Linked DNA regions of Homo sapiens: all the other regions are linked to region 1. Evidence: promoter capture Hi-C in 16 types of primary human blood cells and fetal thymus (Javierre and others, 2016). All regions are on one chromosome and are shown on one strand. Each heading gives the region's core, a stretch centred on a gene start or on the middle of the fragment in contact. The rest is flanking DNA. Distances are from core to core; before and after follow the strand shown. Region 1 holds the start of ASB9 (ankyrin repeat and SOCS box containing 9). Region 2 holds the start of GEMIN8 (gem nuclear organelle associated protein 8). Region 3 has its middle 17 kb from the start of GEMIN8. Region 4 has its middle 35 kb from the start of GEMIN8. Region 5 has its middle 52 kb from the start of GEMIN8. Region 6 has its middle 70 kb from the start of GEMIN8.

Region 1 (5,017 bases), core at 1,053-3,552:
TGTGAAAAGTGATTTTTGATGCCACTCTTGCTTTCCTAGTTCTCCAAACTCATGCTCAATACATCTGCTGATTAATCCAGTTCTGCCTTTGTGGATCTAAATCCCACTCACCATTGAGTACTCTGCTCATTTTATAAGTGAAATTGGATAAATGAATGAATGAATGAGCAGGCTAGTCTACTCAGTCAAAGGGAAGACGTTTTGTGTTTTATTTCTTCCATTTTTACCTTTTTGGTACCTGTATAGTAGATTAATAAACCCTGACTGACGGCCGGGCGTGGTGGCTCACACCTGTAATCCCAGCACTTTGGGAGGCCCAGGCGGGCAGATCACCTGAGGTCAGGAGTTCTAGACCAGCCTGGCCAACGTGGTGAAACCCCGTCTCTACTAAAAATACAAAAATTAGCCGGGTGTGGTGGCGGGCGCTTATAATCCCAGCTACTCGGGAGGCTGAGGCAGGAGAATCTCTTGAACCCGGGAGGCAGAGGTTGCAGTGAGCGGAGATCTCGCCATTGCACTCCAGCCCAGGCGACAGAATGAGACTCCGTCTCAAAAAAACAAAACAAAACAAAACACCCTGACTTCAGGGTCCCTGTTTATTGCCCCTTTGATCAACAGGTGCTGTGGACAGTATACCAGGTATATATTTTTTTCTTTTTTCTTTGATACGGAGTCTCACTCTGTCGCCAGGCTGGAGTGCTGTGGCGAGATCTAGGTGCACTGCAACCTCCGCCTCCCGGGTTCAAGTGATTCTCCTGCCTCAGCCTCCCGAGTAGCTGGGATTACAGGCACGTGCCATCACACCCAGCTAATTTTTGTATTTTAGGTAGCGACGGAATTTCATCATGTTGGCCAGGATGGTATCCTGACATCGTGATCTGCCCGCCTCGGCCTCCGAAAGTACTGGGATTACAGGCGTAAACCACCGTGCCCCGCCTATATATACAGGCCTGAACCCGGGAGGCGGAGGTTGCAGTGAGTCGAGATCGCGCCACTGCACTCCAGCCTGGGCCACAGAGCAAGACTCCGTCTCAAAAAGAAAAAAAAATTAATAAATAATAAATACAGCAATTCAGCAGGGCTGCTGCAACACCAGCTTTCCCAGCTCTGGGTGCTGGGGCTTGTCTCCGTCACAAGCCCCCAAGGATCTCAACAGGGTGAACAACAGTTGCAGAAAGTGAGCTGTTGCCTTCACCCTCACCCTGCTGCTCCCTTTGCTCTCCGAAAGTTACGAACTTTGAGTTTCCTTCCCGATAAACTCCAAGGTTTCCTCACTGATTGGTCTCAGTTTGGGAAAGGACGTGACATCAGCAAGTTTGCAGACTTGGGGCTGGAGAGTTAACCAGTATATTACTAACCAATATACTATTATTTATAAGAACCTGTGTGCAAATGCCTAAACCCATTTTTCAGAATCCTTTCAGCCAACAGGCACCTGCTGAATGCTCACCGAAGTGTGTATTTGTGGGATTCTGTACATTAGCACAGACACCACTTGACAGATGAGAACAATACCTGTAAGATGATTCTCCAATGTTTTAAGTAAAACAAAGTCTCTTTTGTCTCTTTTGAAAGTGACTCAATCAGTGCTCAATGTTTGAACATCTTTATAAACCCTGCCCCACCTAAATGCCAAACACCTAAGACTTACAAATTAAAAAGTTTTAGCATTAAAAATTTTCCTATTTATAAGTAACTTTCAAACCTCCAATTTAATAAATAATGCATTTGACCCACAAAGAATGATTCCTGGGAGCTGAAATTTTCACTGGAGAATAATTTGTGACAATTGAATTTGTCTTGTCTGTAGGATTCTGCAGAAAGAAGTATACACATTTTTGAACAGCTGTGTAAAGAATATATACCAGTGAGCTGTGGACATCTGCCCAGTAACAGCCCCATGGACACCTCACACAGAGCCACTGAAACTGCCCAACCCTCCTCTCCTAAGCACATTAGCCAACCTCCCCAGGGCTGATTCCACTGCCCCTATGACTCACCGCCCATCAATGGGTTTGAAAGAAGCCTGATGCCAGGAAAGTCCCTTGGCCCCGCGGGCTTGCTCCCATCCATGCCCCCTTGTTTGCCATCCATGATGCTCTCTCCTAAGCGAGCAAGCTCTGCGCTCCACTTCAGTTGCTCAGCAAAGTCCAAACTCCATGCTCCCCCTGCTCCTGAAAAATTCCAGTTCTGTGGCTGGCTGAGCTGCACACGTTCTGGTCAAATGGTCTGCAGCAAAGCACAGAGCAGGCAGGGTAATCTGAGTGCTACCTGTGATCAGAGAGAGGCATGCGCTCGTGTACACACACACACACACACACACACACACACGTTTTACCTAACTGGCTGGAGGCCCGCCAGAGGCCACAAGAACCCTCCAGCCCTAAGTCTGCGAAGTTGCTGATGTCACGTCCTTTCCCAAACTGAGACCAATCAGTGAGGAAGCCTTGGAGTTTATCAGGAAGGAAACTCAGTTTGTAACTTTTGAGAGTGAAGGGAGCAGGGTGGGGGTGAAGGAAACAGCTCACTTTCTGCAACTGTTGTTCACCCTGCTGAGATCCGTTTGTTACATGGTAGCTTGTTATGGAGACAAGCCCGAGCACCCAGAGCTGAGAAAGCTGGTTTTGCAGCAGCCCTGCTGAATTGCTTGCACAGTAACATGCACAGCACGCCCTGGCCATCTGTACATGTGCTTTCAATTGTGCTGGGAGTTTCTTATGGGAAATGTGTCTATATGTTACAAAAAATGTACCTTTGGAAAGAACCATTTGTTCCTTTCAGCTGCAAGAATTTCACTAAATGTCCTACCTCACCCCTCCTCCACTCATTTTAACTTCTAAATAAATAATGAACGGTTGCAATTGGAAAAATGGATTGCTAGGTGGCCTGAGATGTGGAAGAGACCTGCTATCTTTTCATTGTGAATTACTAAAATTTATTTTGTTAACGTTTTGCTGTTTTTGCTTATACAAAACATTAGGGGCCGGGCGCGGTGGCTCATGCCTGTAATCCCGGCACTTTGGGAGGCCAAGGCGGGCGGATCACGAGGTCAGGAGTTTGAGACCAGCCTGACTAACATAGTGAAACCCCGTCTCTACTAAAAATACAAAAAAATTAGCTGGGCCTGGTGGCAGGCGCCTGTAATCCCAGCTACTCGGGATGCTGAGGCAGGAGAATCGCTTGAACCCAGGAGGCAGAGGTTGCAGTGAGCCGAGATCATGCCACTGCACTCTAGCCCAGGCGACAGTGCGAGACTCCACCTCAAAAAAAAAAAAATTTGGATGTACTGTGTCCATGTCTTTTCAGATAAACCCAGTTGCCTCACACCCCTGGGTGCTACTTCAGGCTGACAGGCACCTCTAGACTCCCACCATTCCTCTCTTCCAGGTAGAAGAGGATTTTTCATCCCCATGGGGGAAGGCTCTGAGTTAAGTCTCAAGCATAGACTGGCTGTGAAGTGATTGCAGATTTGTCTTAATGCCAAAGATGAGGCCTAGATGTTTTAGATTTACGGAGTCTCAGTTAAAACATTTGGTGGCTGTTATTAACAGTTTGAGGGGTGTAATTCACGTTTTTAAAGGCATTTATATGCATACACATGTATGCACATTTATCAATTTACATTTTCCACATAAATGTACCTATATTATTCTTTTTTTTTTGAGACAGGGTCTCACTTTGTCACCTGGACTCGAGTGCCATGGTGTCATATCGGCTCACTGCAACTTTCACCTCCTGAGCTCAAGCAATTCTCCTGCCTCAGCCTCCTGAGTACCTGGGATTACAGGAGCGCACCACTGTGCCCAGCTAATTTTAGTATTTTTAGTAGAAACAGGGTTTCACCATGTTGGCCAGGCTGGCCTCAAACTCCTGATCTCACGTGATCCCCCTTCCTTGGCCTCCCAAAGTGCTAGGATTACAGGCGTGAGCCACCGCACCCGGCCCCTATATTATTCTATTATTCTATGCTTTTTACACTTATTTTGTCTGTGAGAGCTTTCCATATCAGCTTTTATAGGTATGCTCCTGTCTTTATTCACTGTTGCATAGCATTCCATATTGTGCCAGAAGTATTTAATTATGCTCCTAATGATGCAAGCAGAATGTCATTATTTCTGTTAGTACTATGAAAGGACTAAAGTTCATATTTTTGTACATGTGGCTTTGTGCACATAGGCAAATATTTCTAGAGGAGAGATTCCTAAGAGTGGAAATGCTAAGTCAAAGGCATACTTATGCACATGTAATAAATTGTATAAAACTGAAGACACACACAGGAATGAGTACAAGTAAAACCGGGGAATTGAATAAGATCAGTAGATTGTATGAATGTTGATTTCCCAGTTACAATATTGTACTATAGTTTTGCAAAAAGTCACCATTGAGGGAAACTGGGCAAAGTGCACTGGAGATCTCTATGTGATTTCTTACAACTGCATGTGAATCTGTAATGATCTCAATACAAATTGCACTTTTTGAAAAGAGGCTGCTCATTTAAAATTTGGATAAACACTACTAAACTTCCCTCTATCTCTATTTGCAGAATTAACTGAGAAGGCCATAAGCATACAAATTCTTTACCACTCCATCAGGAAAGATCTGAAGAATGATACATTTGTTTGGCAGAGAGTGAGGAATTGATTCCCAACACAGACTGGATGAGGAGTTGAACAGAAGGGCACAATGGGGAAACTGGATACTATTTCCTTTCCTTCCCAGTAAAATCTTTGTACTACAGCTTCTTTATTTACTTTTAATTAAATTCCAAGTAGATAAGCCTTTTCCATATTCAAAATTAAGTTCCAAAATGACAATAAAGAAGATTTCCAGGTTGTTTCCCTAGTACCTGGGAGGGAATTAATTCATCAGCCTTTAATCTTCTCATTTTATTTATGATGTTGATCAACACCAGTGAATAGGAGGATTGGAGATGAATTTTTAAACTGTTTAACAACAGTTCTTTACAAGGGGAGTTCATGCATTTGTGGATTTGTATGAGGATAAAGTTGAATCACAT
Region 2 (5,017 bases), core at 1,877-4,376, 1.2 Mb before region 1:
CCTAAAAACTAGAATGTATACTTGAACTAGATTTTCCTATCTTCCTTTTCTACTAGAATTCTAAAAATACATGAAAATTCACCTGCTTTGATCTTTGCACAGAAACACATTAAAAGCCAATCATTAAATAAGTTACTCTGGCTAAAGCCCTGAAAGTCAAACCTTCCCTACAAAGCTCCAGTGATTTGGTTCTCTGAACCAACCAGGTAATTTGGAGGATTTAGTTAGGTCTTCAGTACACACTGTTTCAAGGAGATCTGCTGGACACTGCAGCAAAATAAGTGAAGGTATGGTGAGAAATCTGAGTGAGATAGATTGAGTCATATGCGGTTCCAAGGAATCTCTCTGTACATGCAATAATAACCCTATCACAGAAGATGTCTTCCAATAATACACACAACAGTAAGAACTTCCTCACTAAGACAAAGAATATAATAGGGTTTTGTTGAGGGCTGGGCTTCCTGCCCCACCTACTTGGGCAGCCCTGCCCCCATCCCTGGCTGGTTGCTGAGGCTGGCAAGCTCATCTGGCTTGATGCCCTCATGGCCTCCCTCCTGTGTCTTTGCATGGTCCCTGCTTAGTGATTTGGACATCAAAGATGGCTCAAGTCCAAATGGCCTTCTTCCACCTGCAGACATCCAAGCTCCATCTTGGGCAGGACACAGGCCTACTCAAGTGCACATGCCACTGTGTTCAGAAAGCCTGCATCTCCCCGTCTATAATAGCTACAGTTAAAACTGATAGGCAAGGGAGCCAAAAAACTGAGTTTTATTTTCTTTTCATTCCCTCAATCCCCAACCCCAATTTACCCTCTTCTGGATGTTGTAATAAGTACTGTCACAAAGAAGGCATAGCATGGGGAAGGAGTAAGGCTGAAAGGATGCAGTTAACAATTCTTTTTTTCATACAAATGACATTCCACCCACAGAAGGGCATTGTTTAATTTGTCAGCAAGTGTGATGAATTTGTGAATGGGTTTATTTGCAAGTTCTCTGAATCCCCTTGTGACTAATATCAGAATCAAAAGTGAAATATGAGGCCAGGAACAAAGTTACCCTCTGACTCAGGAACACAACAAGCAATGGGATGACTGAGAATGACATAATGATAACATAGTTCAAAAGAGGAAACAGATAAGTTTGTTTCACAGCAAGCATGTCCTTCATAAGCAAAACCTAGTGTGACCATAAGGTAATAAGGGTTGAATAGGCAGGTTCTGCAAATTAAGAGCATAACAGCAAAAACCATGGCTAGTTTAAAGTAGTTAAGATCGCTAGTACATTTCAGGCGTCTTATTTCAAATTTACTTTTTTCTATAAACATATTCACGGTAATTCCATGTTAATCTCTCTTTTCTGAATTTATAGGCACTCACTATGCCTCATTTACTTGGGCACTTACTCAGTTACCTGTAGGCATGGATTCTACAATCTACTCCTTTTAAGTTTCCTATTTTCCTTCCAGCATAAAAATAATAGCTAATATTTCATGCTCTTAGATGCTGCTGAAATTGTTGAGCTTGTCTGTTGTTTCCTGATAACGTTCTCTCCTCCTGCATCTACTCCCCAAAATCTCTGAGGACCTAGTAACTCAAAAAACTGACTATAAAGCACCAAATCTTTTCAGGAAGCAAATATTTAAATACATTATGTTTTCAAAGATCTTTTCAATTCATCTGATATTTGATCAACTACATTCTTTTTTCACTTGTCCAGCTGTTCCGTGGCTGAATTTCCTCTTGTAGAGAAGTTGTTCAAAAAAAGTTCTGTACCTACTTTGCAAACTCTCCAATTTACACTCTAGCCTTAACTGTTCAAAACTTTCCCCCGTCATTCTCATCTCACCCTATCCTTTAAAAAAAAACCCAAAATGATTAATCACCATCTATAGAACAGTTTCAGAATGAACATTTCTCTCTGGAACTTTAGTTTGTATACTTCCCCAGCACAGCAATGAACACACAGAGGGGATTTATACACCTGTGAACTTGCTTTCAGTTATGCTTATTCCAAGTTACTAACCAGCAGTCTTTAAAAATATATGGTTTCTGTTCACATTGAAATTACAAAGAGACTGTTATTCCGATAAATTATGCTAGCAAAAATAGTATTTTTAAAGGGTAGCTCTCATCCTACAATTCATGGGGGCTGTGAGCATAAATAATCCTAGAAGTGTTGCGTTACTAATCTTTAGTCTAGATTTTTTAAGTAATATTGTTCTGATTTGAGATGAAGAACAGCTGAATACACAGCCTAGCCTGTCAAACGAGTTTAAAAACATCATTCCTGAAAAAAATAAAATTGTTCAGAACCATCTGATCTGTACTAAGGGAACATCAAGATTTCAGAGCTAAAATGCACTTCGTTGGCCACTGGTTCAATTACAGCTCATTACTGATAAGTGGGCAGAGACACAAGGCCCATAAACTGTAGGCGCCAGATGTCTCAAGATAACTCCCACCAAAAGCTGACCTCCTGCAGAGGTTAAAGTGCAAGAGAAAAGAAAGAAACCCGAATTTTTGAGCAGAGAGGGCAATATCCTAGACATCCTTCAAGTATGTGGCTGTCCTGGGCGATCTTCTATTCAGATACTGGACTGGATGGGCAAAATCCGAATTCACCTACAGACCTTAACACGGTGGTTCTCGGCACCCCAGAATCACCTGGGCAGCTTTAAAAACTACCGATGCCAGGGCCCCACTATTAGAGATTCTGATTTCATTGGTCCGGGATGGGGGCCCGGGGATCAGAATTCTTAAAGAGTCGTCCAGTGATTCGGAAGCACTGCAGAGCTGAGAGCCTCTGGGACTGGTCCCCTCTCACAATTAACCTGCAATGATTTAGGAATCTCATGGGCCTCCGGCCCCACCTTTTGTCGCGGGATTAAGATAATTATGAGAGCAACGTGACGTCCAAGACCTCGGCTCTCTGCGCATCAGAAGAAGCCAGGGCCCGGGGCGTCTAAGCTCCTCCCTCACTCCCCAAAGGAAACCCAGCCGTCCCCGAAGTCACCTCGTGGGCGCGCAGCTTGCGGATCCTGGGCGTTGGCCGCGCAGGGGCCTAGTTTTCCTTGGAGAGACAGAGGGGGAGTGGGGGACGCGAGGGAGGCGGCTGTTGCCGGGGCGACTGGAAGCGCGCTTCCGGTGCGGAACACGTGGCGTGGCGCGGCGCGCCGGAAGTCCCCCCCTGTGTCGCGGACGTCACGTTCGCACCGCAGGCGGTGCAGTGCTGGAGGCCGGAAGCTGCCTGCTAATCGGCTACCCCGAGTGGAGCGCCGGGGCGGCAGGCGTGGGATGGCTGCGGGTGGCGGGGCCGGCGGAGAGGGAGCTGCACCGGGCGGGGCACTGGGACTGTGGCGGGCACCCGCGCCGGGGGTCGGACGGTGCTTCTGCACCGGCGAGATAAGGGTCGCTTCTGCACCGCCCGGGTTTCCAGCCTTTAACTTTTTGTCCTTTCCTCAGCTTTCTTCGTTTTCCTTCCCTTGTCTTTACTTAGCCTTTTCTTTCTTCCTTTCTGTTTTCTTTCTTAACTAAAACAGTTTTAGTTTCTTAATTTGTCCCAGCGTAAAACACCCAGTCTTTGAAAATAGATTAACCCAGATCTCAGTTTGAGTGCGAGTCCAGTGCTAAGTTTGTAACTTCCCCAAGCCTCGTGTGTCTCATCTATAAGATATGCATAACCTAATGCAGAGTGCCTGATGCATTGCAGCAGACAAAACATTAGTACTAATATGTTTGTAATTATAACCATCACAGCAATACCTGCCCTGTTAACATTACAAGAGTCATTAACAAGAACCAAGCATAAACAATTAGAAGTCTTACGTGACATATCATTTCTGGGGCAATTACCATATTTAATACTTTCTGGGAATTTATTCCAAGGAAAAACAGGTACGAACCAGATAGATGTTTATTACAGAATTATTTTAAAAAGTGAAAATTGGAAAAGACCTAAATGCCCAACAAGGAAATGGCTAAGTCAATTGGGTGGTATTAATGACGTGACATTACTGTATTATTCCTGGACTACAGAAGAATTAAAATGGTATAGAAGAATATTAACTTTAACAAATATTTACTGGATGCCGGCTATGTGCCAAGTATTCTATGTTAGCGCTGTCCATTGTAACCACTACATGTGGCCCTGAGAACCTGAATTGTAGTAGTCTGAACTGAGATACACTGTAAGGGTAAATTACACTCTAGATTTTGAAGAAGAATGAGAAAAAGAATGTAAAATACCTCAATTTCTTTATAGTGATAACATCTTAGAGAAGGACTATTGAGGTTAAAGACTAAAATTTGATCTTTATCTTTTTACTTTATTAGTGTGGCTACTAGAACATTTAAAATTATATATGTGGCATGCATTGCATTTCTATTGTACCGTGGTATTCTATTTACCGGATACACAGTAGTAAACAATACAGTTTTGGGGCTCATAAAATTAAATCTTTTGTGTAGAACATAGACAATAAGCAGATAAATAGAATTGTATGTTGTGGTGAGTTATATGAAGACAGTATAGCAGGGTAAGGGCCAGAAAGTATGTGTATATAGAGGGGGATTATTTTAGAAAAGATTATTCCTCCACCTCAGAAAATGGATGTGGGAGGAAATGAGATATCTATGGATAGAAGCAGGAGATGGTAGGAGGGTGAAGTCTTATGGGAAAAGTCAGGTGTGGATTGAGACAGATAAGTCAGATGGGGCCTGGTGCAATCTCTACCTCAAGGAAGAAGCCAGCATCTAGAGAGGCAGGAAAGAAAGATGGAGAGGGGTAAGATAGGGAGAAAGAGCTTAGGGGGTTCCTGGGAAAGGCAGAAGGATGCAGGCCTAGAGTGGATATAGTTCAGGTAGAGTGATTCCTGGTTCTATGAATGAAAAAATACAATATATATGGTATACTATGGCATTAGATAGAATATTAGTTGGCTGCTGTCACAGAGACCCAGAAGAGGAGTGGCTCAAACTGTTGAGAAGTGTATTTCTATCTCATGGCAGTCTGGGTGTAAG
Region 3 (5,017 bases), core at 1,614-4,113, 1.2 Mb before region 1:
AATTCTGAATTATTCATGGTAGTAGTGACAAGGTTAATGTTTAGAAAAATTACTTAATCACACATATTGGAATAAGCCAAAATAAAGTGTTTAGAGTCTTGAAACCATTCCAAAATCACATTTTACCCAATAACTGAAAAAATATTCTTCCATCACACTTTGAAAGCACTGTGAATAATCATGAAATAACAGTACCCTTTCAAATTTTGGCTAATTTTTTGTTGGAAATGATGATGGGGGACAAGATGGTCCAAAGGTTAGGAACTAGAGAATACTTTCTCTTCTGGCTATATGATCCTATAAACATCTACAAATTTGGTGATCAGTAGCTCAGTGAATGTTAAGGGTAATGTACGCTCTCAATTTATTAGGTATCCATTGGTTTTCTATTAAACTAAATGTATGTAATCAATTTAATATGCATGATTGATAAGACCCATAGAAATAAAATACTAGTTGAATCCTTTACAGCAGTGGTTCTTAGCTTTGAATTCATATTGGAAACACTTGAACAGCTTTTAAAAATCCCAAACCCAGGTCACATTCCAGACCAATTAAACTAGAATCTCTTGGGGATGAGGCCCAGATATCCGTACTTTTAAAGCTCACTAGATAGTTCTAATATGTAGCCAACTTTGAGAAATACTACTTTATAGAACATCTCTGCTTACTCTTAGTTAAGTTTAAGTATTTCAGGGACTCTTTCTTTAACAATCATTAACAGTCTTTTTCTTAAACAGTCTTTAGGGACTGTTTCTGTTTCTTTTTCTTTAAATGGAAGCAAATCATTCCAAAATAATAGTTTATTTGTTTTATTTTATTCCTATCTGTTTTTTTTTGCTCTTGTTTCATTTTGTTTTATTTTTGCCAAGTTGATCAATATAGCATAATGGCATATGGAGTCAGGTCATTCTCAGTTTGAATGCAGATTGGGCTATTTACCAGTTGTCATAGATTGGCAATGTATTTAATCTCTAAGCAAGTTTCCCCCTGCCCCATCTATAGCAGTATTTCTCAACTGGAGGCAATTTTTTCCCACCAGGAGACATTTGTCAATGTTGGAGATGTTTTTGATTGTTACTGCTGGGGAGTTGTTTTTGACATCTACTGGGTAGAGGCCAGGGATGCTGCTCAACATCCTACAATGCACAGGACAGAGCCATAGCAAAGAATTATCTGGCTCCAAAAGTCACTAGTGCTGAGGTAAAGGAACCCTGATCTACAGAGTGAGGCTCTAGAGTCTGACTGCATTCAAAGTCTTATTTCTCTACTTCCTAACTGTGTAATCTTGAGCAATTTACTGAATGTATTCTTGCCTGAATCCCATGTGAAAATGCAGATATTATTAGCACCCACTTTGGAGTTGATGGGAGGTTTAAATGGGATAATGCATTTGGAGCATTAATACAGTGCAAATTATTACCACAATATGTGTCTTTCTGTTCTGGGGCATTTATGGCCTTTTGTCAGTATCCCTGAGATAATTTGTTTGATATATCTCTTGATAATCTGAGTTCATATTCCGTGGTTCAGTGGGAGAAGAGAAAAAGGGGTTGGAGGCTGGAGTTGTCTTTGAACATGTACATGCTTTCAATTTTAAGTGGGAATTCAGAGGAGATAGTTACACAGCACACTGTTAAATTCCTTCTCCCACTTTTCACTTTCCTCCCCCAGCTCACCACTAGCTTGACAATTGTATTGGGTTGGAGTATTCAAATAAAAAGCTTGTATTCAGCCAAATAAAAGTCAAAGAGATTCTTTTAAGTACAGGTTCTAAGGGAAAGTGCTTAACAGCAATGAGCACAGTTTATTTATTTATTATTTTATTATTATTTTTGAAAGCTCTAGGGTACACGTGCATGATGTGCAGATTTGTTACATAGGTAAACATGTGCCATGGTGGTTTGCTGTACCTATCAACCCATCACCTAGATATTAAGCCCAGCATGCATTAGCTCTTTTCCCTAATGCTCTCGGCCCCATGCCCCGACAGGCCCCAGTGTATTGTTCTCCTCCCTGTGTCCATGTGTCCTCATTGTTCAGCTCCCACTTATAAGTGAGAATATGTGGTGCTTGGTTTTCTGATTAACACGGTTTATTTGTAAACTTTATATTTATTATTAACAAGAAGCAGATAGCAACAGGAGTTTGAAATTCGGGGAAAAAAAAGCTCTGTGTTGGAAATAGAAATCTGGGACTTACTACTACAGAAGGAGTCAAAGTTATGGGAAAGAATGAGATTTCAAGGGAGACTGTAGGGAGAAGAGAGAAGAGGGCTCAGGATGTAATGTGAGAAATAAAGCTCAGCTAATAGTTAGTGCAAACCTACTGTGTGCTTGCCGGTCACCTTTCTAATCTATTATACTACATTTGGCTTTTAGGGAGAGTCACCTCCTATTCACAGTCCTCATCCCCAAGTGTTCTGAATCTGGCTTGAAACTAATAAATGAATCTTTACTGAAGACAATATGGAATGCTCACAAAATTAGGTAGAAAATTCCTATGTCGATTGCTGTCCATGAATCAGATTCATTTTTAATTTTTGTCATTATAATTATATAATCATATCACACAATTTGAATTTTTCTCTATGCATATGCTTTCCTGTACTCATAGTGTGCACAAAACTATGCATGTTTTTATAACAACTTTATTGAGGTATAACTCACATACCATATAGTTCACCAATTTAAAATACACAATTCAATAGTTTTTAGTATGGCTTCAAAATGTCTCTTCAAATGGCTATATCATAATTTGCTAGGTCTTTCTTCTATGTGGGGATATTTAAGTTGTTTCTAATTTTTTACCACTATAAGTAGATTTTTCTGCATGTAGATTTTAAAATATTTGGATTATTTTATTTTTAAAACTTTTTATTCTTTAATTGATACATTATAATTGTACATATTTGTGATGTACAATTTGATGCTTTGATATATGTACAGATTGTATAATGTTCAAAGCAGGGTAGCTAGCATATCTATCACCCCATGCATATATCATTTCTTTGTGGTGAGAACATTAAAAAATCTCTCTTCTAATTTGTAATATACAATACTTTGCCATTGACCATAGTCACCCTACTGTGTAATACAACACCAGAACTTATCCCTGTTGCCTAATTTTAACTTTGTACACACTGACCAACCTCTCCTCATCCTGCCCTTCCCCATTCCCTCCCCAGTTTCTGATATAAACACTGTTCTTCTCTCTACTTCTATGAGATCACTTTTTCTTAGATTCCACATAACAGTGAGATCATGTGGTATTTGTCATTCTGTGTCTGGCTCATTTCATGTATTAATATGATATCCTCCAGGTTTGTCCATTTTGTCTCAAATGACAGAATATCACTCTTTTTAATGGCTGAATACTATTCTATTGTGTAGATATATCACATTTTCCTTATCCATTCATCTGTTTTTGGACATTTAGGTTGATTCCAAGTCTTGGCTGTTATGGATAGTGCTGCAGTAAACATGGGAGTGCAGATATCTCTTTGATGTACTGATTTCATTTCCTTTGGATATATATCCAGTAGTGGGATTGCTGGATTATACAGTAGTTCTATTTCTAACTTTTTGAGGAGCCACCATACTGTTTTCCATAATGACTCTACTAATTTACATTCCCACCAGCACTGTGTAAGGGTTCCCTTTTCTCCATATCCTTGCCAAGAGTGGTTTTCTTTCATCTTTTTGAAAATAGCCATTCTAATTAGAGTGAGGTCACATTTCATTGTGGTTTTCATTTGCATTTCCCTGATGATTAGTGATGCTGAGCATTTTTTCATATACCTGTTGGTCATTTGTATGTTTTCTTTTGAGAAATGTCTGTTAAGGTCTTTTGCCCATTTAAAAATCAGATTATGTTTTTGTTTGCTGTTGTTTAAGTTCCTTATATATTGTGGACATTAGCCCCTTGTGAGATGTATAGTTTGCAAATATTTTCTCCCATTCTATAGGTTGTCTCTTCACTCTGTTGTTTCTGTTGCTGTGGAAAAGCTTCTTAGTTTGACAAACATACAAAAATCAGTAGCATTTCTGTATGCTGATAGTAAATGATTTGAAAAAGAAATCAAGAAAACAATTATATTTAGCATAGTTATAAAATGTACATAGGAATAAACTTAACTGAAGAGGTGAAAGATTTCTACATCAAAAGTATAAAACACTGAAAGAAATTGAAGATGACACAAATAAATGAAAAGATAGCTCATGTTTATGGATGGGAAAAATTGATATTGTTAAAATGGTCTTACCACCCAAAGCAATCTACAGATTTAATATAATCCCTATCAAAATACCAATGATCTTTTTCACAGAAATAGAACAAAATGATCCAAAAATTCATGGGAAACCACGAAAGACCCCCAAATAGCCAAAGCAATCTTAAGCAAAAAGAACAAAGCTGGAGGCATCACACTACCTGACTTCAAAATATACTACAAAGCTGTGGTAACCAAAACAGCATGGTACTGGCATAAAAATAAACACATGGACAAATGAAACACAACAGAAAGTCCAGAAATAAATCCATGCACTTATGACCAAACTGATTTTTGATAATGGTGACAAGAACACACACTGGGGAAAGAATAGTCTCTTCAAAAGATGGTACTAGAAAAGCTGGATATCCACATGCAGAAGGATGAGACTAGATCCCTACCTCTTTTACCATACACAAAAATTAACTCAAAATGGATTAAAGACTTACATGTAAAACCAGAAACTATGAAACGACTAGAAGAAAACGTTGGGAAACATTTGATGACAATGAGCTGGGCAAGGATTTTTAGTTAAGACCTCAAAAGCACAGGCAACAAAAGCAAAAATTAGATAAATGGATTATTTTTAAAGCCACATTCAAGATCTATTTTGAAGTCTTTCTTTGTCCATGAAGAATGCATAAAGGAATGTGCAACTGGAAAATTTTGTGTAATGGAGAAACTTGTAAAATGGATTAATAATTATCATTAAAGGATTAAACTGGGAGAAAGCTCCCCAAAAGAGAA
Region 4 (5,017 bases), core at 1,471-3,970, 1.2 Mb before region 1:
TCCTTTTGATTCATTTTTTGGCCTGCTCAGCACTTGCCGGCATTACTGTTTTGCTGTACACTAATAACAATTGATAGCTGTCGAACGACTCTGACATGATTCGGATTTTATGAGTATTTTTGTACATAAACTGCTCCTTGGTTATGCCTATAATTGGTACAGTGGCTGCAGAATCATTTTTAGATTTAATTGGTTGTTCTTGACTTACTTTTAAATAGTTTCTTGTGTGCAAAACAGCTACTGAATATAGTCTGATGAGAATACTGTTCATCAGTTTGAAAGCCCAGTCACATTCTTGAGTCTGCACTGAGAAGGAGGAAGTTTGTTAAGGAAAAATATGTAGCCTATAAAGTGGATTCTCAGTGTTCAGTTGTGCCCAGGAACAAATAAGGGCAATATAAGTACAATGACTTTTGGCTTAATCCAATCGCTTGTTAGTTTGATTCTATTTAATTTGATCAAAAACCCATGAAACCAAACCATTTGTAATAAGGGTGACACAGCTCCTCCTCTTTTATTTTGATAGATGTTAATTACTGCAGGCAGGAGCTATGGAGTAATTCAATTACTGGCTGTAATAACTTTGTCATTTAATTAATAAGGCATGCCCCATATCTGAGTGAGAGGGAAGAGCGTGAAGGCTTTGGAGACTGATTACAACAAAATAATGTAATTCAGATACATGCGATTGAAATTCTATGAATTATCACCAAGGGTAAATGCCTGCTATAGCCTATGGGGAATGCAAATGATGGGCCATTCCCAATTGCTTGGTGAACAAACTATTCCTTAGTGAAACAAGGTAGGATGCATTTGGGACAATTATTAGGAGTAAGCTTGCCACCACTAAAAATGAAGATGTAGTGATAATAATAGTATAATACTAATGAAACAAACACATGTAGTGCTTATTATATACCTGGCAACTTTCTAACACTTTATAGACATTCACTCTTTTAATCTTCACAGCATCCTTCTTCATCCTTCCTGCTATGGAAAGGTGTTGTCTCAGCTTAGATTCCCCTAGAAGACTGTTGAGACAAGAATTTGAATGCAAGCAGTTTATCTGGGAGGCAAAGGAAAGTCTAGTAGAGTGGAATGGAAAGGCAGAGCCAACCTTTGGGTATGGGTGCCTGTGAATTCATAAACCAGTTCCTGAGATTGTTCCTAATTGAAATATGCAACTTACCTCTCTTCCTCCCAGTGGCATGGAAAGGTAGACATCATTATCCCCATTGCTCAGATGAGAGTGCCAAGCGGCACGCACAGTAACAGGATTTGAATCCAATTCAGATCTGACTTGAAAGCCAATGTACTTTTCTCTACTTCCTCAGATCACACATTCTAGTGTGTATATATTTCTGATTCTGTAAGTCTAAGCTGGGTCCAGGCATCTGCTTTTGGTGATTCTCATACTGGTTGTACAGTGGATGTCACTTTGAGTAACTCCTGTTTTGGCAGTGCATTAAATTTGATGTGGCCTCTGATTAAAATGGGCCATTATCCTTAAGTGGAAAAGAGCAAGAAACATTCCAGTGTATACAGTATGGATATAAAAAGAAAATAAAAAGGATTCATATTTGCTTGGGCATGCAGAGAAAATCTTTGGAGGAAAAACAAGAAACATGAGAAAGACATTGGGTAGGTATGGGCATGCTGAGAGAAGACGTTTTGCTGTATGCCCTTTTGTAACTTTGAATTTTGAACCTTGGAAATTTAGCATGTATTCAAAAATTAAAAAGTATCTACATAATACCTATACAGATGTAAATGGTTAAACATTTTTTTTTTGCCTTGGACTATCTGTCTACCGTACCCCATGACCCTTCTGTTTCAAGGTGCTACTGCCAAGAAGCCAGATTTGGGGCATATCATGTGGACATTGTGGACAAATATCCCATAGAAATTAATGGGAATTAGTTGGAGTCAAAATAATACTATCATATTAAATTTCTTTACCTAATGGATTAAATTGGCCTTTTGATTGTCTTGCCCTTGAATCCTATTTCTATGGGATTATATGTTCTAAGTTTGCTAAAATATAGACTTATTAAATGAACATAACTAAAACTTTTGTAAGTAGTCATCATTTAGGTAAAATATACCTATGACTCAATTTAAAAAGCATTTTGTTCAGCATTTTCACCTTCATGTGGGAACAGCTGCTAACTTTTGGTGTTGAAAAGGGAAAAGTCAGGCTTTGACTTCAAAGGAGAAAAATGACATTGTCGATGATGACAGGAGTGAAGGGTGTTAAGACATAATTCCATAATTCAAGCAAACTCTTGCGAATCAAAGACATTCTTTGATGATCCAATTGCCTCCTTAAGAGAGGCCTTTCCCCACCTTCTGTTCTCTCTAGGATAGCTAGTATTATCCATCTGAATAAAACGTGGCTTTTTAAGAGAATGACAGAGTGCACTGTGCCTTTGCATTCAGTGTATTGTTTTTGATGGTGTTTCTTTCACTTACTCCATTAGAGCAAAATAAATGATTCTGCTCCTTGGTGTCACATATGGTCATGTCTAAGTGAGGACTTTATGCTTATCTTAATATTTTGGCTTAAAGGCAGCAAATGAAGTCTTCAGCTTCTTTAAATCCTAGCTAGGGAGCACTCTGACTGTCTGAATAACACTGAAAGAAGAACCTTAATGACTGGCAATTCCTTATCTGAAGCGCCTTGCTAACCCAAGATGAGTCACACCACTCCCTCAATGCAAACATTCAGCTCTGTAAATTACGACTGCTCTCTTACGTTTGCGCTATTCATTCCAAGCGAATCATCGATTGCTGTGCTGCACACGGAGGAAGACACGGGCTGCCTCATGGGATGAAACGTTCAGCGCCATGCCTGGTACACGACAGCGCTGAATAAATGATACGATTATCTAAAAGCAGCGAAAGAAAAGTCTGTCTGAAGTCAGGTTCCCCGGCAGCAGACGCTGACAGGAGAATCTAAGAGCCCGTGAGTTTCTCAGGAAGTGAGGGCAGGAGAACAGGCCAGGGAAGTCCCTGCCTCAGCCTGATCCTTGGGGAGCTCTGGAGGATCAATGAAGGCTCAGAGCCTCTAGGCCAGGGAGCTAGGCCTCCATATTCCTACGGTCACTGCTGGCTGCAGTTGGCTTTTGGAGGAAGTGAGCTCCCAGGCATTTCTGCTCCCTGGACGAGAGGATGAAGTGGCTACAGAAGTCGAGGGACAGTGCTGGGACCCGGCAATGGAAGCACGGGTCCTAGAAAGGGAATCTGAAAGGGGCAGGCCGTGTGACGACAGTATCTACTTCTAGGTCAAGGAAGGGCCGACTTCAGGGGCCTGCAGCCACCGCAGCAGCACAGGGCCCTGCCTTTCGAAGAACCCCGCACTTGGGATTCAAGCCTCTGCAGTTGCCATCTTGAAGCCTGCAGCGTTATCTCTTGCAATGTGTTTTGTAAGCGAAGGTGGGGGGAGACGACGGAGCATGGGGGTGGGCAGGGGCAGCCCTACCTCCCAGTCCCTGGTGTCCGCGCCTACCTGCCCTGCCCATCGGCCACCCTCTGCTTGGGGCACTAGCACGTGGGCGTGCAGAGGGCTGGGTTGAGTGCAGGCCCCGCGATGTCTCGCGGGTGAGGCGTGGCTGCCGTCATCACGGACCTTGGCCCGTCAGGAGGGGTGGGACGCCCACCCATCAGTAGCCCTGGGCCTGAGGGGGTCCTGGCCTCTGGCTTTTCATGCCTTGAGGGGGTTGCTCTTCAGCAGTGGGTGGCTATGACGGTCGACTGGGAAGGGGAGATGGATCCCCGCCAGAAGGACACTTGAGACACTGCCAACCTAGACGCCCCCCATCCCTACCCACGCCCTGGAGCCTGAGAGGGGCTGTAACTCACCTTATTCATTACCCTGTGCCTGAACCTGGCGTGAAATAGCAAATAAAAGTTACCACCACGGATTGAGAGAAACAGTGAAGAAGGGAAAAAAAAGTTTCATATTATAATAACGTTAAGTGCACTTTTTCCTGTCTCACCCCCGCCGCCCGCCCCCCCCCCCCCGCCCACACCAGCAAGGAGCCTCATTTTTATTTTGCACTGAGCTCTGCAAATTGTATAGCCAGCCCTGGGTCAAGATGAGATATATAGATATGTGTATATATATATATATATATATATTTTTTTTTTTTTTTTCTTGGAGTCTTGCTCTGTTGCCCAGGTTGGAGTGCAGTGGTGCGATCTCCGCTCACTGCAACCTCTGCCTCTTGGGTTCAAGCGACTGTCCTGCCTCAGCCTCCTGAGTAGCTGGGATTACAGGCATGCGCTACTACTGCCTGCTAATTTTTGTATTTTTAGTAGAGATGGGGTCTTACCATGTTGGCCAGGCTGTTCTCGAACTCCTGACCTCAAGTGATCCGCCTGCCTCAGCCCCTCAAAGTGCTGGGATTACAGCCGTGAGCCACCGCGCCCGGCCAAGATGAGATAATTTTAAATAGAGAGATTGCTATAGCAGGTCAGAGCATGAGGAAACATTTTAATGCTCACATCAGGAAAAGTAATAATGATAATAAAATTTTAAGAAGAATTACCATTTTTAAGCTCTTCCCTGCCACTCACTGTACACATTGCCTTATTTATCTCTTTTAAGCTTAGCAAAGACCCTGCAAGCCATAGATGACAAAACTGACACTCAGAAAGTCGTGCCATTTGTGCCATAAAGAATGCAATCATGTCTTTTGCTGCAACATGGATGGAACTAGAGGCCATTATCTTAAGTAAAACAACTCGGAAATAGAAAGTCAAATACTGCATCTTCTGTCTTATAAGTGGGAGCTAAATAATGTGTACACAGGACATAGAGTGTGGAATAATAGACATTGGAGACTGAACCGTGAGAAGAATGGGAGGGAGGTGAGAGATGAGAAATTACTTAATGGGTACAATGTATATTATTTGGGTGATGGTTACACTAAAAGCCTAGACTTCACCATTAGGCAATATATCCTTGTAACAAAATTGCACTTGTACCCCTTATATTTATACAAAAAAACAGAAA
Region 5 (5,017 bases), core at 810-3,309, 1.2 Mb before region 1:
ATCAAATTATATATGCAATTTTGAAAGATTTCTCTTGAACTTAATATGCTAGCATGAGCGTTTGCAATACTGTGAAATGTTCTTTGAAATATCTTTTATATAGACTGAAATTATTCTTTGTATGGATATATCATATTCCTCTGGAAGGATGTACCATAGCTTATTTAACTACTTCTATGTTTTTAGACATTTAGGTGAAATGTCTTTAGTCTTTTTTAAAATGAATTTTTGACCAGGTTGCTGATTTTTCCCCTAATAATAGATCCCCAAAATGGTTTTATATTAGAAGTAAACACACACATGCACACACGCATATAACATACTTAATAGCTTCAAAACCAACAGAGAAGGAACTTTTCAACAAATGATTATATGAAAGCTTGCCACAGCCAGTCTAGGGCTGGTTAGTTAGCAATGCTCCCAGGTACTTCTGGGAAATTTCCCTCATTCTAGTTGCACAGAACTATGACCAGAACAGTACTTAGACCAGGCTGATCTGGCAGACTGCAGACATTGGGCATGATGAATGGGGTTTGTGTTCATGCCTGAGTGTTCTGTATTATTCTTTGCTCAGTAACCAAATGTAAATCATATGACTCCAAGATAGATGAGGGGTATCCTGGCTGGGATGAGGCACTTACTGGTACATATCTAGACTGGCCCTCTTGCTGAACTGGTCTTGTCTATGCGTGTAGGAACAAGGCACAAGACATGTCTAAAACATCAGTTTCTAACTTGTAAGAAATGGATAACAAATTTAATTCACAATATTACTTCAAGCTATAAAATATCTACATTATATCAGATAGTAAGAGTAAGGAACTTAACATTTTGTTGAAGGACATGAAACAATACCTAAATAAATGAAGAAACACACCATGTACTGTTGGGAAGACTTAGAATACTGACATTCATTAATTATTAAATAATGACATTATTATATAAATGTCATTATTTGCCAAGCATATGTAAACGCAAAATAATTCCTATCAGAATCCAAATGAAGACATTTTTAGAATGAGAAAAATTATAGGCAGAAGAAATGATAGTTGCCAAAAAAATTTATGTTTCAGAAGAATAATTGGGGTAAGGATCTTGTGTTATCAGATAAAACTTATAATAATTCTATGGTAATGAAAACAAAATGTCAATGGCATAAGAAATAATAACCAGGACAATGGGACATAGAACCTCAGCACATATCCAATAATATAGAAGTTAATCTTGGAAAATCTGGCACTATAATTCAATAGGAAAATAAATAATTATGTTGGTATAATTTTGCTATCCATTTGGAAGGAAACTAATATAAATGCCTACCTTATACCATTTATAAAAATATATACCTGGTGAATTAATATAGCTCAATGTGAAATCAAATCTTTATGAATATTAGAAGAAAATTTAGAAAAATATTTGTTTCTGTAAACTTGTGGGTGAGTAGAGATTAGGAATCAAGTTGGGAAACTTAGAGGGAATCAAGAAAACGATCAATAGATGTACAAACTTAAAAATGTTTCTTAATGCAAGAATGTATAATAAAACAACGAGAAGACAAATGAACTGGGCCAAATATGTGCAGTCATATGACAGGTAAAACGTTAATACCTTCAATTTACAAGGAACCTGCACAAATACATTGGAAAAATGACACAATAAAAAAGAATGTTCATATTTATAGAAAAATGCAAATGGTTAATAAATGAAAGGTGGCTTAATCTCCTTAATATTCAAGGGAATGTGGATTTGAGAAACAACCTTAACTTGTCCAATTGCAAAACCTAAAAGATTGGTAACATTCAGTATTAGTAACAATTTGCGGAAACAGACATTTGTGTATTGCTGATGGGAAGGTGAATGAAAAAACCTTTATGGAAAGTTATCTTTTAATATTTGTCAAAATTTTAAAAATGGATATGTCTTTGATCTAGCAACCCAGCTTTGGGAATGTATCCTATTAAATTAAACATACCATAACGTAAGGTATATGTATATCCAGGCAGCTTTTTCTTGTAGCTGTAAACTTGGAGACAACTTGAATGTTTCACAATAGAAAAATGGCCGTTTTCATTGTGCAAATTCTTAGTGTGAATTATTACTAGAAAAATTATGTATATTGACCTGGAGAGATGGAGTGATATATTACCAAGTAAGGGGAGAAAACTGTCTTCAGGGGAAGATGTAGAGTATAAGTTTTGTAGAAAAAAATAGGCCCTCTTTCCCACATACATGTGTTTGTATGCCAGCATGGTGAGAGATGTAGCAGAATATGCCTTAAATTATTATTGGATTCCTCGGAGGTTTGACTAAATTAGAGGGTAAATTATCTGTGTCAGGAATTTAGCACTGTGTCTATTACAGTCAACATTTTAAACAAAATATGTCATAATTGTGCTTTAAATACCAATTTATAAACATTTATTATAAAATAATATAAAATAGCATTAAATTTTTAAAAAGAGAAAAAACCTGATTATATCAATTTTTGAGTACTTCCCTATGTCTTTCTCTGTATATATACACATGCATTTGCATCACATATGTATATATATATCTTTATTTACTTAACTGTGCATTTTTCATGGTATTTCAAAATCTCTTGTATTATATATTTCTTTAGTATGATAGTTTTTAATGGCCAAATGGTATTTAAATTGAAATATTGTGACTTTTTTCAACTATTCTTCTGTTAGGCATACGTTATTTTTAGTTTTCTTCTACTTTGATTATTGATGCATAAACACCTTTATGCTTACTATTTGTTTTCTGCTGATTAATTTAAAAATATACTCCTTAGTGTATAATTACTGTTCAAAATATATAGGAATGTTTATTGGTCTTGTTACACACTGCCTTAGCTATAACATTTTGCATCAGCTATTTGAATTGAGATTCACTGTAATCCTTTTCTACCTGTGGGCAAACTTTCTAAAGGCAGATCCGAAAATAATTTGCAAAGTGCTGCTTTTCACTCTGTTTTACTGATAACCCATCATAACGACACATGTTACCACTTGTTTATCACAACTAGAAAATTTAAATATACCAAAGTGCCTGTATAGCGGGAAGGATCTTTTAAGATGAGTTTGACAGAATTATTGAAAATAATAACAGTAATTTACGTTTATCTGGTACTCTTCCTCAACAGGATGATTCCATTTTCTTTTTTAGTATAATGGACTGATACATGTTTTCTTATGCTGTTTTGCTACTACCTTTTCTGTACACATCATTTAAGGAACAGTTCTCACTTGCCTGAGTTACAATAGCTTATCTCTCAGTGGAAATTTGAGAAAACAACTAGAGCTTCTGTCATCGACATTCTCATTAATCCCATTTTCTATGTTTCTGATGTATCCCTCTATAGTAGGCTCTCTTTGGTATTTAGGGGGAGATTCCACAAACACCTGCAAGTTTTCAGATTCCCCTCACATCTCTTCTCTATTGACACCCCTGGGATTGAGGATTCAGGTACTGTACTCTGATGTTTTTGTCTGTTATAGATACTCAATTTCACCCATGATGTTTTTGTCTGTTATAGATACTTAATTTTACCCGTGGGTCATGAATCCGCATTGCTTGGCTGTTTTCTATTGCCTTTGGGGCTTATTGAGTAAGTGTTGACCTTGTTCTTATCTCAAGATAGAATTCCTACCATGGATATCTAATAGTACTACAGATATTTTCACTCCCACTTTTTAAGCAATCGTAGCCCACCCAGTCAAAACATTTTGTATTTTTAAGCTTCGTTGGTCATGAACTACCAAACAAGTTGGTCAGGAGCTTTACTGATCATTTTCATTTAATTATGCCATATTTTTAGGAAGAAGTGGCCATAGGCTTTTATGTTTTACTTCTCAAACAACATCAAAATATCATCAGTGTATTACCTGCCACACTCCCTCCCCCTTTTCTGATAGAGAACATAAGACACTTGTGGTGGTAAAGACATCTGTTTTACACTCAAATAACAGATGGTACCGTTTGAACTCAACAGAAGTAGAGGAGAAATGGAATGTAAACTTACTCGCACAATTAGAAACTATTTAACTGATGTTTTGCATATTTGGATTTTGCAGATTGCTTCGTAAGTGATATACCTTAAATTGAAATGCTCTAAGACATTTATCATTTCAATTTCTGCTAATTTATTTTTCTACACTAAAGGCAAGTTTCTGTTCTTTAATCATTAGCTATCTTCCTTCCCCTCACCATACAACCTCTTCAGTAATTGGCAATGGAATTGGTATTATGGAAGCAAGTTAAACAGATGTAGCTCCTACCTCTGTGACTTACATTCTAAAAGTAGCATTTCACAGGACTACCACAGTTGAACAAAAATAAAAAACACAAGGAACAATGTCATAAAAAATGTTTTACCAGCTGTTCCTACCACACCTCTGTTTTCTTTTTTCTTTTTAGTGAACTATAATTATATGCAGTAAAATGTTCTAGTCTTATGTGTACAATTTGGTAAGTTTTGACAATAAGTACACCTACATAACCAACACTCCAGTCAAGATATAGAATCTTCCATCACTCCAGAAAGTTTCTTTGTAACCCTTCTAAATTAATTCTCCTCTCTGCCAGGCAAACACTATTCTGATTTCTATCACCATAGATTAATTTTGTCTGTTCTAGAACTTCATATTCATGGAATCATTGGGCATATACTCCTTGGTGTCTGATTTCTTTCACTCAGTATAATAAGATTCACCCATGTTGTTGCATGCATTAATAGTTCATCTTTTTTGCTGAGTAGTATTTCATAGTGTAGATATAGATATACCATAATTTGTTTTCCATTCTCCTATTGATGGGCAACTGGTGTGTTTGTGGTTTTTGGCTATTATGAATAAAGCCGCAATAAACACTCTTAATTGAGAGTTTCTGAGGGCATATGTTTTTGTTTGTTCAGTGCCTGGGCATTGCTGGATCACATGGCATTTTTATGTTCAATTTTATTAAGAAACTGCCATATGGATCTATCATATTACATTCCATGAGTAATGTATGA
Region 6 (5,017 bases), core at 1,348-3,847, 1.2 Mb before region 1:
TTAGGTATTTCTCCTAATGCTATCCCTCCCCTAGCCCCCCACCCCCCGACAGGCCCCGGTGTGTGATGTTCCCCTCCCTGTGTCCATGTGTTCTCATTGTTCAACTCCCAGGAATCTCCCACTTACTGAAAAGAAACAGAGACCTTGAGGAGATAGTTCATTTTCAAAGTGAACGCTAAGGCAGAAAAATGAGCCTAAAGTCCTGCGAAAAGGTGCGGGGTGCTGAAGAATATTCTAACATCTGAGTTAATAAGACTTAATAAGGGATCAGTTTGAAAGTGAGCTATCTCCTCAAGGTCTCTCTTTCTCTTCAGTAAGTGGAAGATTCCTCAAGGATTCATAGCTGTTATGATGCCAAGCTGTTAAAGTTTTTCCTTAAAATCCAGACATTCAGCTCCAGGCTTTGCAAGTGACAACCCTTAGTGAGGTGAGAGAGTGCCATTCTACTGAGTCGCTTGGTGCCCTTCCTTTTAGGTGCTACAGGTGTACTCCCTCTGCCTTGAGGGATCTGCAGGCATTACCCCTAGCTAGCAGTCCTTTCCCACACACCAATGTGTGTAGAACAACTGCAACAGTCTATCCTTTTGTTTGCTTAAATTTCAATACTATAACTTAGGGTCTTATGATTAACTACTAAAGTAAGTTTTAAAAACCACTAAAAGATATTAAACTTTTGAAAGACATATTTTATTGTAACTTGTTTGAGCCCATGGTACCTGGATTCTACCTAGATTGATGGATGATGACGAACTGCAGGGAACAAATGAAGGGGCCCTACTGTTAACTCTGTATTCACAATAGGCTTGCCACTTCCCCCAGAACTTCCAGGAGCTTCGCTCTGTTTTCTGAAGTGATACTAACTGCCATATCCTGTTTTTTCCTCATGGAAAAAAGTTAACAAGGGCCCGCACATTTTTTTTTTTTTTTTGAGACAGAGTCTTGCTCTGTCACCCAGGCTGGAGTGCAGTGGCGTGATCTCGGCTCACTGCAACCTCTGCCTCCCAGGTTCAAGCGATTCTTCTGCCTCAGCCTCTTCAGTATCTGGAACTACAGGGGCATGCCACCATGCCTGGCTAATTTTTTTTTTTTTTGTATTTTTAGTAGAGACGGGGTTTCGCCGTATTGGCAACACTGGTCTCGAACTCCTGACCTCGTGATCCACCTGTCTTGGCCTCCCAAAGTGCAGGGATTATAGGCATGAGCCACCGTGCCTGGCCTGCACTCTTTAACATGCTAAAGAGGTACTTCATGGTTTATTGCATTAGTTATCTATTGCTGTGTAACAAATGATCCTGAAACTTAGCAGCTGAAAACAACAGACATTTGTTCTTTCACATGGTTCTGAATATTAGGAATCCAGTTGTGGCTTAGCTGGGTGGATCTGGCTTAGAGTCTCTCACAAGATTGCAGTTAAGCTATTGGCCAGGGCTGCTTTCTTCTCAAGGTTTGACTGGGGCTGTAGAATCTGCTTCTATGCTTACTCATGTAGTTCCTTGCTGACTGTTGATTATGTGGACCTCTACTTAGGGCTGTTCAAAACATGGCAGCTTGCTTTTCTGAGTGAGTGTTGTAAAAGAGAGGAAAGTGAGAAAGTGGCCAAGATAGATGCCATAGTTGTTATAACCTAATCTCGAGAGTGCCACACCATCAATTCTGTTGTATGCTGTTGGTCACACAGACTGACCCTGGTACAATTGGGAGGGGACTACACAAGGGTGTGAATACCAGGAGGTAGGGATCATTGATTGCCATCTTGGAGGCTGGTTATTACACAGTTTCTTGTCTGGCCAGTCCTCTTTTCCAGGACCCCACACTCTCTGGCCTTTTTGTTTCTTTAATGTGCCATGCTCACCCTAGCCACAGTGCCTTAATACATATGGTGCCATCTGCCCATGAAACTCCATTCCCTTCCTCACCTGCTTAGTTGCTGCTCCCCATCAGCTCTCAGCTCAACCATCTATTTCCCGGAGAAACCTTCTCTGACTCTTTCTCCATATTCTTCCTTTGCTTTTAACATTGTTGTAATTTTACATTGGCTGTTTATTTCATTAGTGTTTTTCTCTACTTACTCTCTGGGTTGTAAACTCCAAGTTTACATTAGTTTTTGCCTATGAATATATTCCTGGCTCAGTGGCTGATGCAAGATAGACGTGATGAATGGATAAATGAAGAAATGAAGAAAGTCAAGGTCAGCATATGGAGAAGGTATGTGAGAGGGAGTCCAGGTGTGTAAAGATAATGAGTGTGTGAGCTGAAATTATATGAGGGGAGGAAGTGGCTATTTTTCCTTCCTCCAACGTTCTCTATTCCTCTCCTTTTATCTATACTCCCCACCTGCTCTTCCTTTTCTCCTCCATGTCTCTTTCTTTTGCTTGTCTATCCCAGTTTGTCCTGTCTCTCATCTTCTCACTGATAGTAATTGGAGAAGGGGAATCACATGTTGGAACAAGAGAATGAGATATGAAGTGAGCTGCACAATAGCAGTAAATGTTTTTTATAACATAGTCCTGGGCAAGTACAGGAAGCTGAGGCAAAAGTCTTCAGCTGTTGCAGAAGTGAGGTAATTGGGACAGAGCATCCCGGTGTGTTCATTCAATCATATACTCATTTTACTCACATTCAGCAAGAAGATTTTACCTATTGGAGAATGGGCTGGGTGTTGGGGATATAAAGACTTCAGGTTGCAGGATTCCTGTCGTCAAGGAGCTCACTGACATCAAGGCGCTCACTGTCTAGCACCTGGGTACTCAAAGTGTGATCATCAATGCAGCATCAATGTCATCTGGGAGGTTGTTGGAACTGTAGGCTTGTAGGCCCCACCCAGATGTACTGAATCAGGATTTTTTTTTTTTTGAGACAGGGTCTCGCCCTGTCACCCAGTCTTGAGTGCAGTGGCATGATCACAGCTCACTGCAGCCTCAAAAACCTGGGCTCAAGCAGTCCTCCTGCCTCAGCCTCCTGAGTATCTGGGACTAAAGGGTGCATGCCACCATGCCTGGCTAATTATTATTCTTTTTTGTAGAGATGGAGTTTTGCTATGTTTCCCAGGCTGGTCTCAAACTTCTGGGCTTAAGTGATCTTCCTCCTTCGGCCTCCCAAAGTGTTGCAATTGCAGGCATGAGCCACTGTGCCTGGCCCAGGATTTTCATTTCAACCAGAAGCCCAGGTGATCTTTGTGTTCATTAAAGTTTAGGAAGTAGCTGGCTAGAAAACATAGGCAAGTGAAAAGCTGAGGACAACAGGTAAAGAAGTGTCAGGTCAGTCATAAACACGGGGTGCTGGAGGATCACATTGTAACACCATCTGACCCTTGTCTGCCGATGGCAGTTGATGGTGGCAGGGAGGGCAGGAAATTGCAAGGGAACAAGAATTTGAAAAGGGAAGGGTTCCATAGGGAGGAGTGGCATGCAGAGAAAGTAGAATATACAAAGGCCTGTTGGTGCTCAGAAGCATGGCCCTCTCAATTAGGTGCAAGTTATTCAACCTGGATAGAACTAGAATCTGAGGTGAGAAGTGACAAGAGATGAGGTTCAACACATGGATGGAAATAGATCACAAGGAGTTCACCATGTCCTCCTAACAAGGCCCAGCATTATTTTCACTTTATTTTTTTTCTTCCAACTTTTATTTTAGGCTTAGGGGGTACATGTGCAGGTTTGTTACATGGGTAAATTGTGTGTCACTGGGGTTTGTATACCAAATGATTTCATCACCCCGGTAGTGAGTATAGTACCTGATAGGTCCTTACCCTCCTCCCACTCTCTACCTTCAAGTAAGCTGTGATGTATATTGTTCCTATCTTTGTGTCTGTATGTCTTTAATGTTTAGCTCCCACTTATAAGTGAGAACATGATATATTTGTTTTTCTGTTCCCGTGTTAATTCACTTAGGATAAGGGCTTCCAGCAGCATCCATGTTGCTGCAAAGGACATAGTTTTGACATTATTTAAAGCACTGGAGGGTCATTGATTATTCTAGTTTGTATTGATGGAAGGTCATTCTTAAAGGAACAGGAGCAGAGCTAATGATACTATAATAATATTTATTGAGGACGTATTATATACCAGGTGCTGTGCCAAACATGTAAAATGCTTTGTGTAACCCTCCAACAAACCTATGAGGAAGATACTATGATAACTTCTAGGGGTTCAAAGGATGGTATTGCTACCCATTATGCACATGGAGGGCACAGGGAAAAAGTTCCTTTGATGCTGCAGAAAAAAGCAGACTAAAGTTGCTTTGTACTTGGAGTTTGAGCGTCCACATCACTCTTGTATCTCAGGGTTAACAGCCTTTGGAGAAGTGGAGCGATGAGAGCCAACACTTTTGTTGTCTTTTGTTTACTGTTTTCTGATAAAATTCTGTTTTGTTTGAAGAACATTCCCTTTTGCTTCCATGGCGTGGGTTAGGCATCATCAGCCAGCTTAGCACAGAGACCCCAGGCAATTGCAGGTGCTCTGTGGGTTACATTTAAAGCGAATTCCCTGAATAAACAGTTCAGTAAAAAACACCACGTGCCCAATCTCACAACCCATAAAGTCAAACCTGACTTTTGTGTCCTGTGGACAGCCATTTTTACCAGGGTTAGCAGTAGCCAGAATTAGGAGGCAGGGCACATTTGTCTTAGGGCTCCCGTCTGCCTCCCTTTCTTGGAAAATGATCAGGTTTAGTTGGATTTCTTTTCCTCATCAAAACATACCTGGCCTGTGTCCATTTTTTCAGGTTCCTCCCCTTCCTCAAGAAAATGTTCATGATGTATTAACTGGATTTTAATCCTTTAGAATGAGTTAGCCTGTTAGCAATATCATATCTCCCCAACAACAGATGCCTTGTCTTAGAGTGGCGCTAATGTGAAACATGGAAAACAAGATCAGAGAAGATTTTCTTCTTTGGGACGCCTTGTCTCCCTTTCCCATGACCCCTCTGGCCTGTTACATCAACGAAGATGGAAAAGGAAAGAGACAAAGTCTCTTTGCCTAACTGTTTTCAATTGTTATTTCTCATGGTTTTGCTTGTT

The links. Contacts are between HindIII fragments. The CHiCAGO score rates a contact against its expected background, and 5 or more counts as called.
Region 2: a contact is called between the fragment with the promoter of GEMIN8 here and the fragment with the promoter of ASB9 in region 1, in 1 of 17 cell types (endothelial precursors). The highest score is 5.6, in endothelial precursors.
Region 3: a fragment that was not itself captured here is called in contact with the fragment with the promoter of ASB9 in region 1 in 2 of 17 cell types (naive B cells and non-activated CD4 T cells); the score reaches 6.2 in naive B cells.
Region 4: a contact is called between a fragment that was not itself captured here and the fragment with the promoter of ASB9 in region 1, in 1 of 17 cell types (total B cells). The highest score is 5.9, in total B cells.
Region 5: a fragment that was not itself captured here is called in contact with the fragment with the promoter of ASB9 in region 1 in 1 of 17 cell types (non-activated CD4 T cells); the score reaches 5.9 in non-activated CD4 T cells.
Region 6: a contact is called between a fragment that was not itself captured here and the fragment with the promoter of ASB9 in region 1, in 2 of 17 cell types (non-activated CD4 T cells and total CD4 T cells). The highest score is 5.3, in non-activated CD4 T cells.

What each region holds. Positions count from the first base shown.
Region 1 is chrX:15,267,781-15,272,797 of GRCh38, forward strand. It overlaps ASB9 (ankyrin repeat and SOCS box containing 9), which reads right to left and starts at 2,303. Exons shown (of 7, transcript NM_001031739.3): 1 at 2,001-2,303. The coding sequence starts at 2,094. The HindIII fragment of the contact is 7,265 bases long and covers 1-5,017 here.
Region 2 is chrX:14,026,766-14,031,782 of GRCh38, forward strand. GEMIN8 (gem nuclear organelle associated protein 8) reads right to left here and starts at 3,127. Exons shown (of 5, transcript NM_001042479.2): 1 at 3,012-3,127. RefSeq lists enhancers at 2,716-3,216, 3,217-3,717 and silencers at 3,094-3,293, 3,328-3,467. The HindIII fragment of the contact is 15,884 bases long and covers 1-5,017 here.
Region 3 is chrX:14,044,352-14,049,368 of GRCh38, forward strand. No RefSeq gene overlaps it. Among named protein-coding and RNA genes, the nearest start is that of GEMIN8, 17 kb to the left of the region's middle. The HindIII fragment of the contact is 2,283 bases long and covers 1,723-4,005 here.
Region 4 is chrX:14,062,387-14,067,403 of GRCh38, forward strand. No RefSeq gene overlaps it. Among named protein-coding and RNA genes, the nearest start is that of GEMIN8, 35 kb to the left of the region's middle. The HindIII fragment of the contact is 3,773 bases long and covers 835-4,607 here.
Region 5 is chrX:14,079,600-14,084,616 of GRCh38, forward strand. No RefSeq gene overlaps it. Among named protein-coding and RNA genes, the nearest start is that of GEMIN8, 52 kb to the left of the region's middle. The HindIII fragment of the contact is 3,365 bases long and covers 378-3,742 here.
Region 6 is chrX:14,097,309-14,102,325 of GRCh38, forward strand. No RefSeq gene overlaps it. Among named protein-coding and RNA genes, the nearest start is that of GEMIN8, 70 kb to the left of the region's middle. The HindIII fragment of the contact is 7,329 bases long and covers 1-5,017 here.